4 separate regions of the Homo sapiens genome follow, and all the other regions are linked to region 1. The links are contacts of gene promoters, found by promoter capture Hi-C in blood cells and fetal thymus (Javierre and others, 2016). All regions are on one chromosome and are shown on one strand. Each heading gives the region's core, a stretch centred on a gene start or on the middle of the fragment in contact. The rest is flanking DNA. Distances are from core to core; before and after follow the strand shown.

What was found. Contacts are between HindIII fragments. The CHiCAGO score rates a contact against its expected background, and 5 or more counts as called.
Region 2: a fragment that was not itself captured here is called in contact with the fragment with the promoter of TP53I3 in region 1 in 8 of 17 cell types (naive B cells, total B cells, non-activated CD4 T cells and 5 more); the score reaches 8.5 in naive B cells.
Region 3: a contact is called between a fragment that was not itself captured here and the fragment with the promoter of TP53I3 in region 1, in 6 of 17 cell types (naive B cells, naive CD8 T cells, total B cells and 3 more). The highest score is 8.3, in naive B cells.
Region 4: a fragment that was not itself captured here is called in contact with the fragment with the promoter of TP53I3 in region 1 in 13 of 17 cell types (total CD8 T cells, naive CD4 T cells, naive CD8 T cells and 10 more); the score reaches 12.5 in total CD8 T cells.

Annotation. Positions count from the first base shown.
Region 1 is chr2:24,083,396-24,086,193 of GRCh38, forward strand. TP53I3 (tumor protein p53 inducible protein 3) reads right to left here and starts at 1,439. Exons shown (of 5, transcript NM_004881.5): 1 at 794-1,439. The coding sequence starts at 931. It also overlaps a transcript of FAM228B not described here. RefSeq lists enhancers at 1-81, 677-776, 927-976, 1,724-2,224 and a silencer at 987-1,166. The HindIII fragment of the contact is 14,995 bases long and covers 1-2,798 here.
Region 2 is chr2:23,851,518-23,854,315 of GRCh38, forward strand. All of the region lies in intron 13 of ATAD2B (ATPase family AAA domain containing 2B), which reads right to left. Among named protein-coding and RNA genes, the nearest start is that of ATAD2B, 74 kb to the right of the region's middle. The HindIII fragment of the contact is 4,900 bases long and covers 1-2,798 here.
Region 3 is chr2:23,870,127-23,872,924 of GRCh38, forward strand. All of the region lies in intron 8 of ATAD2B (ATPase family AAA domain containing 2B), which reads right to left. It also overlaps the pseudogene PGAM1P6. Among named protein-coding and RNA genes, the nearest start is that of ATAD2B, 56 kb to the right of the region's middle. The HindIII fragment of the contact is 5,735 bases long and covers 1-2,798 here.
Region 4 is chr2:23,922,352-23,925,149 of GRCh38, forward strand. All of the region lies in intron 1 of ATAD2B (ATPase family AAA domain containing 2B), which reads right to left. Among named protein-coding and RNA genes, the nearest start is that of ATAD2B, 3.4 kb to the right of the region's middle. The HindIII fragment of the contact is 2,762 bases long and covers 18-2,779 here.

The DNA of each region.
Region 1 (2,798 bases), core at 189-2,688:
CCCTTGCTTTACAGATGGAGAAACTGAGTCCCAGACGGGAAATAATAGTAGTGGGATTAGGAACCTTGACGATGGTTCCCATGCATCAAGCGCTAGGCTCTGTGCTCACTCACCCCAGTCCTCAGAAGCTGTAGAGCAGAGGGACTTAACCAGGAGTGTGTGGCAGAACCACCTGAGGAGTATTTCAAAGTACACGTGCCTGGGCCCCCATCACGTTTCTTTTGTGCCCCGGGGGATTCTGATGCACATTTCTGAATGACCCCAACCAATGCAGCTGGCCCAGGTCAGTAAATCAGCATCAGACAGAAGAAAATTCTTAAGAGTACTGCCCGCTGTCAGCTCCGGGACTCTCAGAGTGGAAAGAGTTAAGAGGTCTTTGGAGCCACAAAGACCTCAGCTTGAATCCCAGCTCTTCTGATTGCTAGTGTCACGGCCTTGGGCGTACTGCTTAACCTCACTGAACTTCAGTTTCCTTATCTGTAGAATTAAGATGGCGAACAGGGTAGCCTGGGGAGTAAGTGTGCCCACACCCCACAACAATGTTAGTTCCGCCCTCATCTGGAGGCCTGAGTGGCTATGGATTAGCTCGGGGTGGATTCTGCTTTACAAGTACTCCCCCTTGTTTTGCATGAACAAAGAGGGCGCCCTGGGTTTAGGTCTGGGAAGCCCCAGCGCAGCTGCCTGCTGGGTGTGGAGCGGTGCACGCCTTCACGTCTGGTCAATGTCCACTGAGTGCTGTTGAGAGGGAGGCTCTGGAGTCCCGCCCGCCCCGGCGCGGCTGAGCCCTGGGTACCTGCATTAAGTCCGCCCGGTTCAGGGCGCTGGCCGCCACCTTCAGGAGGACTTCACCCTCCCCCGGGCTCGGCTTGGCCACCTCCTTCACGTAGAGGTTTTCCGGTCCTCCCGGCTTGTCAAAGTGCACGGCTAACATATTGTCTGAGGACACAGGGCAGGGCAGGGCAGGACAGGACAGGGCAGGGCAGGGCAGGACAGGACAGGGCAGGGCAGGACAGGACAGGGCAGGGGCCGCTGTATCCTCGCGGAGCAGCCCAGCCTCAGGCTGGCACCGCAGCGCCCCCTGCCGGCCAGCGCCTCGCTGCCCTGGTCTGCCGCGGACCCGGCCTCCGCCCCGAGCTCCTGCCTGGGAAGTCCTCGGCCGCCTCCAGACCGATCCCACCCGGAACACAGATGGGAACGGCGGGAAGTGGGATGGCGGTACAGGGCTGGATGCGGCAGAGCAGGACAACGCCGAAGAGGATCAGGCAAATCACACTCCCTCTGAGTTGGAAGCCCCCAGCCCGACCCGGGTCCCCGGCGCCCGTATGAGTTACTTACTCCTGGCCCGGCTCCCCTCCCATGCACCAGGCGGCGCCGAGTGGTTCTGGCTCCTGCGGGTCCCGGTGACAAAGCCCGAGCCCCAGAGCCCCAGGACTGCCTCTGCCTCCACCGGAATGGACGGCTGGACCTGGGGTAGCCGGAGGGGTGGGGCTAAGCAGAACCACCCTCCCCCTCTTTCCTTTCCTCCTTCCCCCTTTAAAACGCAAAGTTAGAAGCAAGCAAATCAGATTTTCTTGTCCTTTTAGCCTCTGGAAAAGAGTCTTTCTCTCAGCTTGACAGAAAGTGCGATTCTAGCTCTCACTTCAAGGAGAGGAAACTTCCTTCTCTCTAGGGAACGAGACCCAACCTCTTGGCGGGCGGATTGGTCCATTTTCCAGGCATGGCCAGGCTTTTGGCACATTTATGTAACAGGCTGGCATCCCGCCCATCTTGAGCATGGGTGGGCAAGCTGGGTGCTGCTAAGAGAAGAGAAAGGAGCCGTTGGGAGTGGGGGTGGGGAAGGAAGGCAAAACGCAGTCCTGGGATCCTTATCACTCGCCTCCTCCTGACAGTCCTGGGGGAGAGGTTCAGCCCCAGGAGAAGGATGCTGGCGATTGGGTAAAAGCTGTATCCGTAAGCTACATGAAGGTTTCTCAATCTCGGCGCTATTGACATTTTGGACTAGCTAGTTCGTTATTGTAGGAGATCGTCCTGTGCATCGTAGGATGTTTAGCAGCATCCCTGGCCTCCCCCCACTACATATCCGTAGCACTCCTTGTAAATTCCTGTTTTAGTAAGAACCTCCCATCCTTGACATCTGATCACCCTCAATATCTCATCCTCCACCATCCCCCAAGTGATATCCGACCACCCTGGCCTGTCTTCAGTGAGAATCCTGTTAGGTCAGTTTAGATAGAATCCCCCTTACCCCTGATGCCTCTTACCAATTTTCCATCCACTGACCCCCTACACTGCTCCTTGGCTATACATTCCCACTTGTCCGTGATGCATTCAGAGTTGATCCCAACCTGTCTCCTCCACTGCAAGAACTCATTGCAGTGGTCCCTAAACCTGTAGCGATGGTGCTAAATAAAGTCTTCCTTAATGTGCTTTAACAAGTATCATTGAATAATTATTTCTTTAACACAACAGAGCAAAAGCCTATAGAGATGGAAATAATAAAATGATGGGACTTAAGGAAAAATTCAGGAGACCCTGCTATGAGAATAACAGGAATTTTAGGCCGGGCGCGGTGGCTCACGCCTGTAATCCCAGAACTTTGGGAGGCCAAGGCGGGCGGATCACGAGGTCAGGAGATCGAGACCATCCTGGCTAACACGGTGAAACCCCGTCTCTACTAAAAATACAAAAAATTAGCCGGGCGTGGTGGCGGGCGCCTGTAGTCCCAGCTATTCGGGAGGCTGAGGCAGGAGAATGGCGTGAACCCGGGAGGGGGAGCTTGCAGTGAGCCGAGATCGCAC
Region 2 (2,798 bases), core at 136-2,635, 230 kb before region 1:
TTTCATACGTCCCCCGCCTGCCCCTTCATATGTATACCCATGCCCCAACAGAGTGGTGCACTTATTTCAACTGATGAACCTACAATGACACATCACAATCTACAAAGTCCACAGTTTACATTAAGGTTCACGCTTGATGATATACATTCTATGGGTTTGGACAAACATATCATGATGTGGATCCACTCTTACAGTATAACACAGACTATTTTCACTGCCCTAAAAAATCTTTTATACTCTGCCTACAAATCCCCCTCAGTCTACTAATTTTTAAAAATATAAGAAAAAAGGTAGTATAAAATTGGAAACAAAAATAATAGTAGAAAATCTATGAAAACAGAAGTTGCCTCTTTGGGGGAGAAAGGACCAATAAAATTGATAATCCTCTAGCCGGAGTAATCAAGAAAAAAAAAAAGAGAAAACACAGGTTATCACCATCGGAAATGAAAAGAATACTACCGCAGACTATTTAGGCATTAAGGAGATAACAGAATAGTAGGAAAAAATGTATGTAAATTTCTTGACTTAGGTGAAATGAACAAATTCCTTTAAAGATAAACTACCAAACTAACAAAACTGACCTAAGAATAAATAGAAAACTTGAACAGCCCTGTATCAACTGAAGAAATTTAACTTGTAATCAAAAACCTTTCCATAAACAAAACTCCAGGCCCAGGTATTTTCACTGGTGAATTCTCTCAAACACTTAAGAAATGAATAACATCAAACTTACACAAACACTTTCAGAAAATAGAGAAAGAGGGAATGCCATCTCATCTTTTTTTTTTTAAGAGACAGGGTCTCACTATGTTGCCCAGGCTGCTCTTGCACTCCTAGACTCAAGAGATCCTGCTGCCTCAGCCTCTCAAAGTGTTGAGATTACAGGCATGCACCATCACACCCAGTGTATATCTCATCTAATACACATCAAAATTACCTGATTCCAAAACCAGATGCAGATATTTTAAGAGTAATTACAGATCAAAATCTCATTAATACAGATAATAAAACTTTTTATATTAGCAAGTGGAATCCAATAATTTTTTAAGAAAGACAATATATTATGAGCAAGTGAGGTTTATTCTAAGAATGCAAAGTTAGTTTACTATCTAAAATTCAGGCCAGGCGCAGTGGCTCACACTTGTAATCCCAGCACTTCGGGAGGCCGAGGCAGGTGGATCACCTGAGGTCAGGCGTTCAAGACAAGCCTGACCAACATGGTGAAACCCTGTCTCTACTAAAAACACAAAAATTAGCCAGGCACGGTGGCAGACACCTGTAATGCCAGGTACTCGGGAGGCTGAGGCAAGAGAATCACTTGAACCCAGGAGGTGGAGGTTGCAGTGAGCCGAGATCACGCCATTGCACTCCAGCATGGGCGACAGAGCGAGACTCCATCTCCAAAAAAAAAAAAAAATCTAAAATTCAATCAAAATAATGCTCTACCTTAATAGAATACAGGAGAAAAGCCATATGATCAATTCAAAAGAGACAGAAAAAAAAATATGTTACAAAGTTCAGTACTCTATCCCAGTAAAATAAACTCTCACAGCAAACTAGGAATATAGTGGAAATCCCTCAATGTAATAAAGGGCACCTATGAAAAACTTAGTTAAAATCACATTCAATGGTTAAAGTCTCAATGTTTTACAGCCAATGAAGGAAACAGGCAGTGATTTCCATTATCACCATTACTATTTAACTGAATTCTAGCCAAAGAAATAAGAAAAAGAAATAAAAGACATAGATTGGAAAGGAAGAAGTAGAAGTACCTTTATTTGCAGATAAGGTATATGTATAAAACCGTAAGGAAACCACAAAATAGCTAATAGAACTAACAAATGAATTTAGCAAGGTTGTGGATACAAAGTCTATAAACTCAGTTGTATTTTTATAAACCAGCAGTAAGCAATTAGAAAATAAATTTTCTTTCAAAACTCCATTCACATTAAATGAACAATAAAGTATTTAGGGATGCATTAAACAAAAGATGCCTAAGATCCTTATGCTAAAACCATAAGACACAGGAAAAGGAAATTAAAGAATACCTAAATAAATGAACAGAATTACCATGTTCATAGACTGAAAGACGAATAAGGATGCAATTCTTCCCAAATAGATCGAAGGATTAATTGCAATCCCAAATAAATCCCAACAGTCTTTTCTAAAGAAACTGACAAGAGGCTTTAGAAATGTAAATGGAAAGATAATAGATGACTACAACAATTCTGAAAAAGAACAAATTTGGAGGACTTATACTAAAATGAACATTAATCAAGACAGTGGTATAAGGATAGACCTGTAGATCAATGGAATCAACTAACAAATCTAGAAATAGACACACATTTATATGGTCAATTTTTGTCAAAGACGTGCCAAGAAATTTAACAAAGTAAACTCTTCAATATATGGTTCTGGAACAAATGAGTATCTGTATAAAAAAATAGGCTGGGCATGGTGGCTCATGCCTGTAATACCAGCACTTTGGGAGGCCGAAGCAGGAGAATCACCTGAGGTCAGAAGTTCGAGACCAGCCTGGCCAACATGGTGAAACATACCTCTACTAATAATACAAAAATTCGCCAGGCATGGTAGCACACACCTGTAATCCCAGCTACTCAGGAGGCTGAGGCACAAGAATCACTTGAACCTGGGAGGTGGAGGCTACAGTGAGCTGAGATCGCGCGACTGCACTCCAGCCTGGGCAACAGAGTGACACTCCGTCTCAAAGAAAAAAAAAGAATACCTGTATTAAAAAAATAAACTTCAGTCCATACCTTAAACTATCTACAAAAATT
Region 3 (2,798 bases), core at 188-2,687, 210 kb before region 1:
AACCCGGGAGGCGGAGGTTGCAGTGAGCTGAGATTGCACCAGTGCACTCCAGCCTGGGTGACAGAGCAAGACTCCTTCTCGGAAAAAAAAAAAAAAGGAGAATAGAAAGCCTAAAGTTTTTTTTAAAAGAATAATTCAGGAAGGGAGTCAGTAACCAACTTTTTTTTTTTTTTTTTTTGAGACAGTGTCTCACTCTGTCACCCAGGCTGGAGTGCGGTGGCAAGGTCAGGGCTCACTACAGCCTCAACCTCCAGGGCTCAAGCGATCCTCCTGCCTCAAACCCCCAAGTAACTGAGACTGGAGGCACCCGCCACCACACTGGCTAGTTTTTGTACTTTTTGTAAAGAGGGAGTTTCACCATGTTTCCCAAGGTGGTCTCAAACTCCTGAGCTCAAGTGATCTACCCACCTTGGCCTCCCAAAGTGCTGGAGTTACAGATATAAGCCACCGCACAGGGCCAGCAACCAATTTAAATTACATCCAAATTTAGCGAATATCGGTCACTGTTTGATAAATAACATTAGAATCTCAGAAAAAAAAAAGTTTGGTTTTTTTTTTTAATTTTATCTTTCCCAAATAGTCACAGTCCAGACATTTAAAGAACAAAGGAAAAATAATACACTGGTTTACAGAGGACAAGGGCTTTAACTCACTTAAGATATTTCCATCCTGTTTGAACTTCTTATAAAATACATAAAATATTTTGAAGAAAAAAATAGTTTATAACCAGAACTACTATGGAGAGATTAGGTAATTTGCCAGGCTGAAGTCATCACGAAGGAAAAATAATACTTAATGAATGCCAGATTATTAGTATAACTCATGACATCGCTAAGACACCTAAAAAATACTATAATAAAACCACCACAAAATTGTGTGCTCACGAAGTGTTCAAATTGAGTTCATCATATCCAAATCAAATGCTTCAACCACTTCTTTTAAACTGTATATTCAGTTAGCAGTTCCACTAACTAGTAATTTGCAAAAAAAAAAAAACCTCAAAAATCATCCTAAATCCCTTTTTGCCCACCACATAATCACTGCCATTGAGCTCTAGCCACATTCCCTGTAAATATCCCTTATATCGTCTTCTTCTCCACCCCTACCTAGGTTTCGCTTACCACCTGCCTAGCCATTTAACCACCCTCAGCTCTGCTTTACTAAAAAAAAAACATTTGCCATGATCTTACCTCGGATCTTGTTACCGCGTGAACTGCTCTCCACCTCTGCAATTTTAAAATTCAATGGCCTACTTTTTGAACATAACCTCCTAACATACCAACTTTCAACTCATCAAGGCCTACTATACCCGAGCACCCACTGACTCAGAGTCAACTCCCTTCGTGGCTTAATTTTCTGTCAAGCCTCACAGGAAAAGCTATTACTTCAGTTTTTAATCTTTCTACCTGACTCTGTCTCCTTTTTCTTCCATTACACTTGCTGAATTCCAACCCTGTACCAATCCAAGTAATAAAAGTAGAACACTGAACACACTAATGAAAATCCACACAACCATACAAGCTGCAATCATTGTCAGTAATTTACTTCAAGCACAAATAGCCTTCAAAGATGTCCCAAAATCTGTGCATCAGTACTCCACTCCAATGCCCACATGTCCCATTAGCAACCCAGATTTTCTCAACTTCTCCTTAAGATCCTTAACCCACCTCCTACTCCTTCTCTACTAATCGGAATCCTTTCATTAACTTCTGCATCCATTTTTGTGAGGGAAGAAGGAATTGTTTTTGGGTTTGTTTTTCTTTTTTTTTGAGACAGAATCTCGCACGGTCACCCCGGCTAGAGTGCAATGGCGCAATCTCGACTCACTGCAACCACTGTCTCCTGGGTTCACGCGATTCTCCTGCCTCAAGTTCCCAAGTAGCTGGGATTACAGGTGCACACCAACACGCCCAGCTAATTTTTGTATTTTTAGTAGAGACAGGGTTTCACTATGTTGGCCAGACTGGTCTTGAACTCCTGACCTCATGATTCGCCCATCTCGGCCTCCCAAACTGCTGGGATTACAGGCATGAGCCACCATGCCCAGCCTGTTTCTGTTTTTATTTTTGTTTTTAGATAGAAGGTCTCACTCTGTCAACCCAGGCTGGAGTGAAGTGACACGATCATAGCTAAGAGCAGGAAGCCACAGCTTCCACGGCTTTACGCACAGTCTCTTCATCCCCCAGGAACTGCATGCACCTGATGGTCTTCAAGTTCTTGTCAAATTCATAGACAATGGGAATACTAGTCGGCAGGTTCAGCTCCATGACAGCCTCTTCAGAGAGACCATCCAAATGTTTCACAATGCCCCAGAGGCTGTTGCCATGCACTGCAATCAGCACCCATTTCCCCTCTTTTACCAGGTGAGCTATTTCTTCATTCCAAAACGGCAGAGCTCTGGCTTTGAGAGTCCTTCAGACTCTCACAGGAGGGTAGCTGATCCTCCGTGAGGTCTGCATGCCTGCGATCCTTACTAATGTTGCTGTAGAAAGGATGGTCAGGCTCCATCGGAGGTGGTGGAACATCATAGGAGAGCCTCCAGATCTTCACCTGGGCCTCACCATGCTTTGCAGCAGTTTCTGCTTTACTGAGATCAGTCAGACCCCCATAGTGCTGCTCACTGAGGCACCAAGTCCTCACTACAGGCAACCACATCTGATCAATGGCATCTAGCACTGTCCAGAGGGTCCAGATTGCTCTCTTCTGCACTGAGGTGAAGCAGATGTCAAACTCATAGCCAGCCATCTCACAGTGCCTGCCTGCCTGCCACTCTTCATCTCCTTATGGCCCGCCGGGCT
Region 4 (2,798 bases), core at 149-2,648, 160 kb before region 1:
GGGTCAAGCTTTATGAAAGCTTGGAGCAAAACAAAAGCCACAGTATACAGGAGTAATCACATCTAACTGCATAGCACTAAAAAACAACCTGATATTTTAAAAGTGTGGGCATTGTGGGTAATGATAAGAGAGGAAAAAAAAATAAGAAAATTTAAAAGTGAGGGCACAAAGGCAATCTACAGATTAAGAGAAAAATCTGCAAACCATATATCTGATAAGCAGTTAATTTCCAAAATACATAGGGTACTCCTACAACTCCAAAGGAAGAAAACATTTTTTAATGGGCAAAGCAGGATTTTAAGGCTGCAGTGAACCACTCCAGCCTGGGCATCAGAGTAAGACTCTGTCTCAAAAAAAAAAAAAAAGGGTCCTAACTAAACAGACACCTGTCAGGTATATAAAAAGGTGCTCAACATTACTAATCATCAGGGAAATGCAAATCAAAACCACAATGAGATATCACCTCACACCTGTCAAAATGGCTCTTGTCAAAAAGACAAGAGACAACAAATATTGGGGAGATGTAGAAAAAAGGGAATCCTGGTACATGTCAGTAGAAATGCAAAATGGTGCAGCCACTATGGAAAACAGTATGAACGTTCCTCAAAAAATTAAAAATAGAACTACCATATGATCCAGCAATCCCAACTTCTGGGTATTTATCCAAAGGAATTGAAATTAGGATTTCGACGGACATCTGCACTTCCATGTTCGCAGTAGCATTATTAATAGCTAAGACATGGAAACAATCTAAATGTCCAAAAAGAGATGAATGTAGAAAACGTGGTGTACATGTGTGCATGCCCAGTGGAATACTATTAAGCCTAAGAAGGAAATCCTGCCATTTACAACAACACAGATGCACCTAGAGGATGTTACACTAAATAATATGTCAGTCCCAGAAAGACAAATACTGAATGATCTCACTTATCTGCTAGTTTAGTGGAATCTAAACTAGCAAATTCACAGAAGCAGAGAGTAGAAGGGTGATTGCCAGGGTCTTGTGGGGGGACAATCAAGTTTCACTTATGCCAGATAAGTTCTGGAGATCTATATAGCATAGTGCCTACATCTAAGAATACTGTATTGCATACTTAAAATTTTCTAAGAGGGTAGATTTTATATCAAGTGTTCTTACCACAAAAATAATACTAATAATACATTCATAATAAAAGGGACAGGGAAACTTTAGGAATGACGGACATGTCTATGGTGTTGATGCGGTGGTGTTTTCACAAATATATACTTATCTCCAAACTCACAGAGTTATATACACTAAGTACCACCTTTTACATGTCAAAAAAAAAAAAGGCTTTTCATACCGAAAAAAAGAAAAAGAAAATAATTCCAATAATCGGCAGAATGCATATTTTCCCCCATCCTATGCATATACTACTTGGGAAAAAGACAAAACTTTAAGAAAAGCTCATAGCGCTATGACTTTTTAAAGCAAATAAAATGTCTCTGGACACAGTGAATGAAATAATCTAAAAACAGGGAAAAGGGGGAAAAATAGGCATCAAGTGTAGTTAGTTAAGAACATGGCACAGGCTGGGCGCGGTGGCTCACGCCTGTAATCCCAGCACTTTGGGAGGCCGAGGCGGGCTGATGACGAGGTCAGGAGATCGACACCATCCTGGCTAACACCGTGAAACCCCGTCTCTAATAAAAATACAAAAAAATTAGCCGGGCGTGGTGGCGGGCGCCTGTAGTCCCAGCTACTCGGGAGGCTGAGGCAGGAGAATGGCGTGAACCCCGGGGGGCGGAGCCTGCAGTGAGCCGAGATCGCGCCACTGCACTCCAGCCTGGGCTACAGCGAGACTCCGTCTCAAAAAAAAACAAACAAACAAACATGGCACAAAAGCAGAAAAAGGAGAAACTCCTCAATTACAAACAGGAATATTATGTTACAAACAGGAATACATTTCTTTCTACAAAAATAAGGGTCTGCGAAAGCAACAACACGGGCAACCCCATTTTGCACCAAATGAGACTTTACAGACACTGGCAAATGCTTATTACAGACCCCACAGACATAGAGGGTGTCTTTAAGTACTCCAGAAAGGGTGAACCAGGAGTGCTAAATTCCTACAAAACTGGAGAAGAGCTAACCAGAAATATACAACCTGCTTCATAAATATATAGTCCATAAACTTAATAAATTCAGAATTATAATTTATCCTCTTCTAAAGGTCCAATCACTATGTAAGAGTAGTTACGTCTCTAAAAAAACCTTTCAGAGAAAGCAATTAGATGACTACATCATCTCCTAGAGCCGAACATAAATCTTCTTAAGACTGAAAAACAAATATTTCAAAGTAAATCTTTAGTACCCTGTTATTTATGGTGCTTTAAAACATTTTAAAAGGATCTTTGAAACAAAGTTTCATTAGTACCCTTCTACAAAGAGCTCTCATATCTTTCATTCTTTTAGCAATTTAAAAGCTACCAAATGTTCATTTCCTCATTAGATTATTGATTCCTAGCCTTTTAACATCTCTATAACAGCTGCTTGACAAATTACCTCACCTTATTCCTCGGGGGGTGAGGACAGCATGATATCCATGAATTCAAAAATGGGACCACAAACTGATGAGTGAAGATGAGCTAATTGCTTCAGATGAGTTAGACACTGCTCTAACAGACTAGGCATTCACATAGCATGATACGATTAAATGCTTACACCCTAAATATTTTCTTTGTCCTTAAATGTACAGAAAAGATCTTTTCTTAAATTGAGTTTTATTTTAAAATATGTGATAGCCTCAGTAGGTCAAGAAGCTTGAACATGTTTGGAA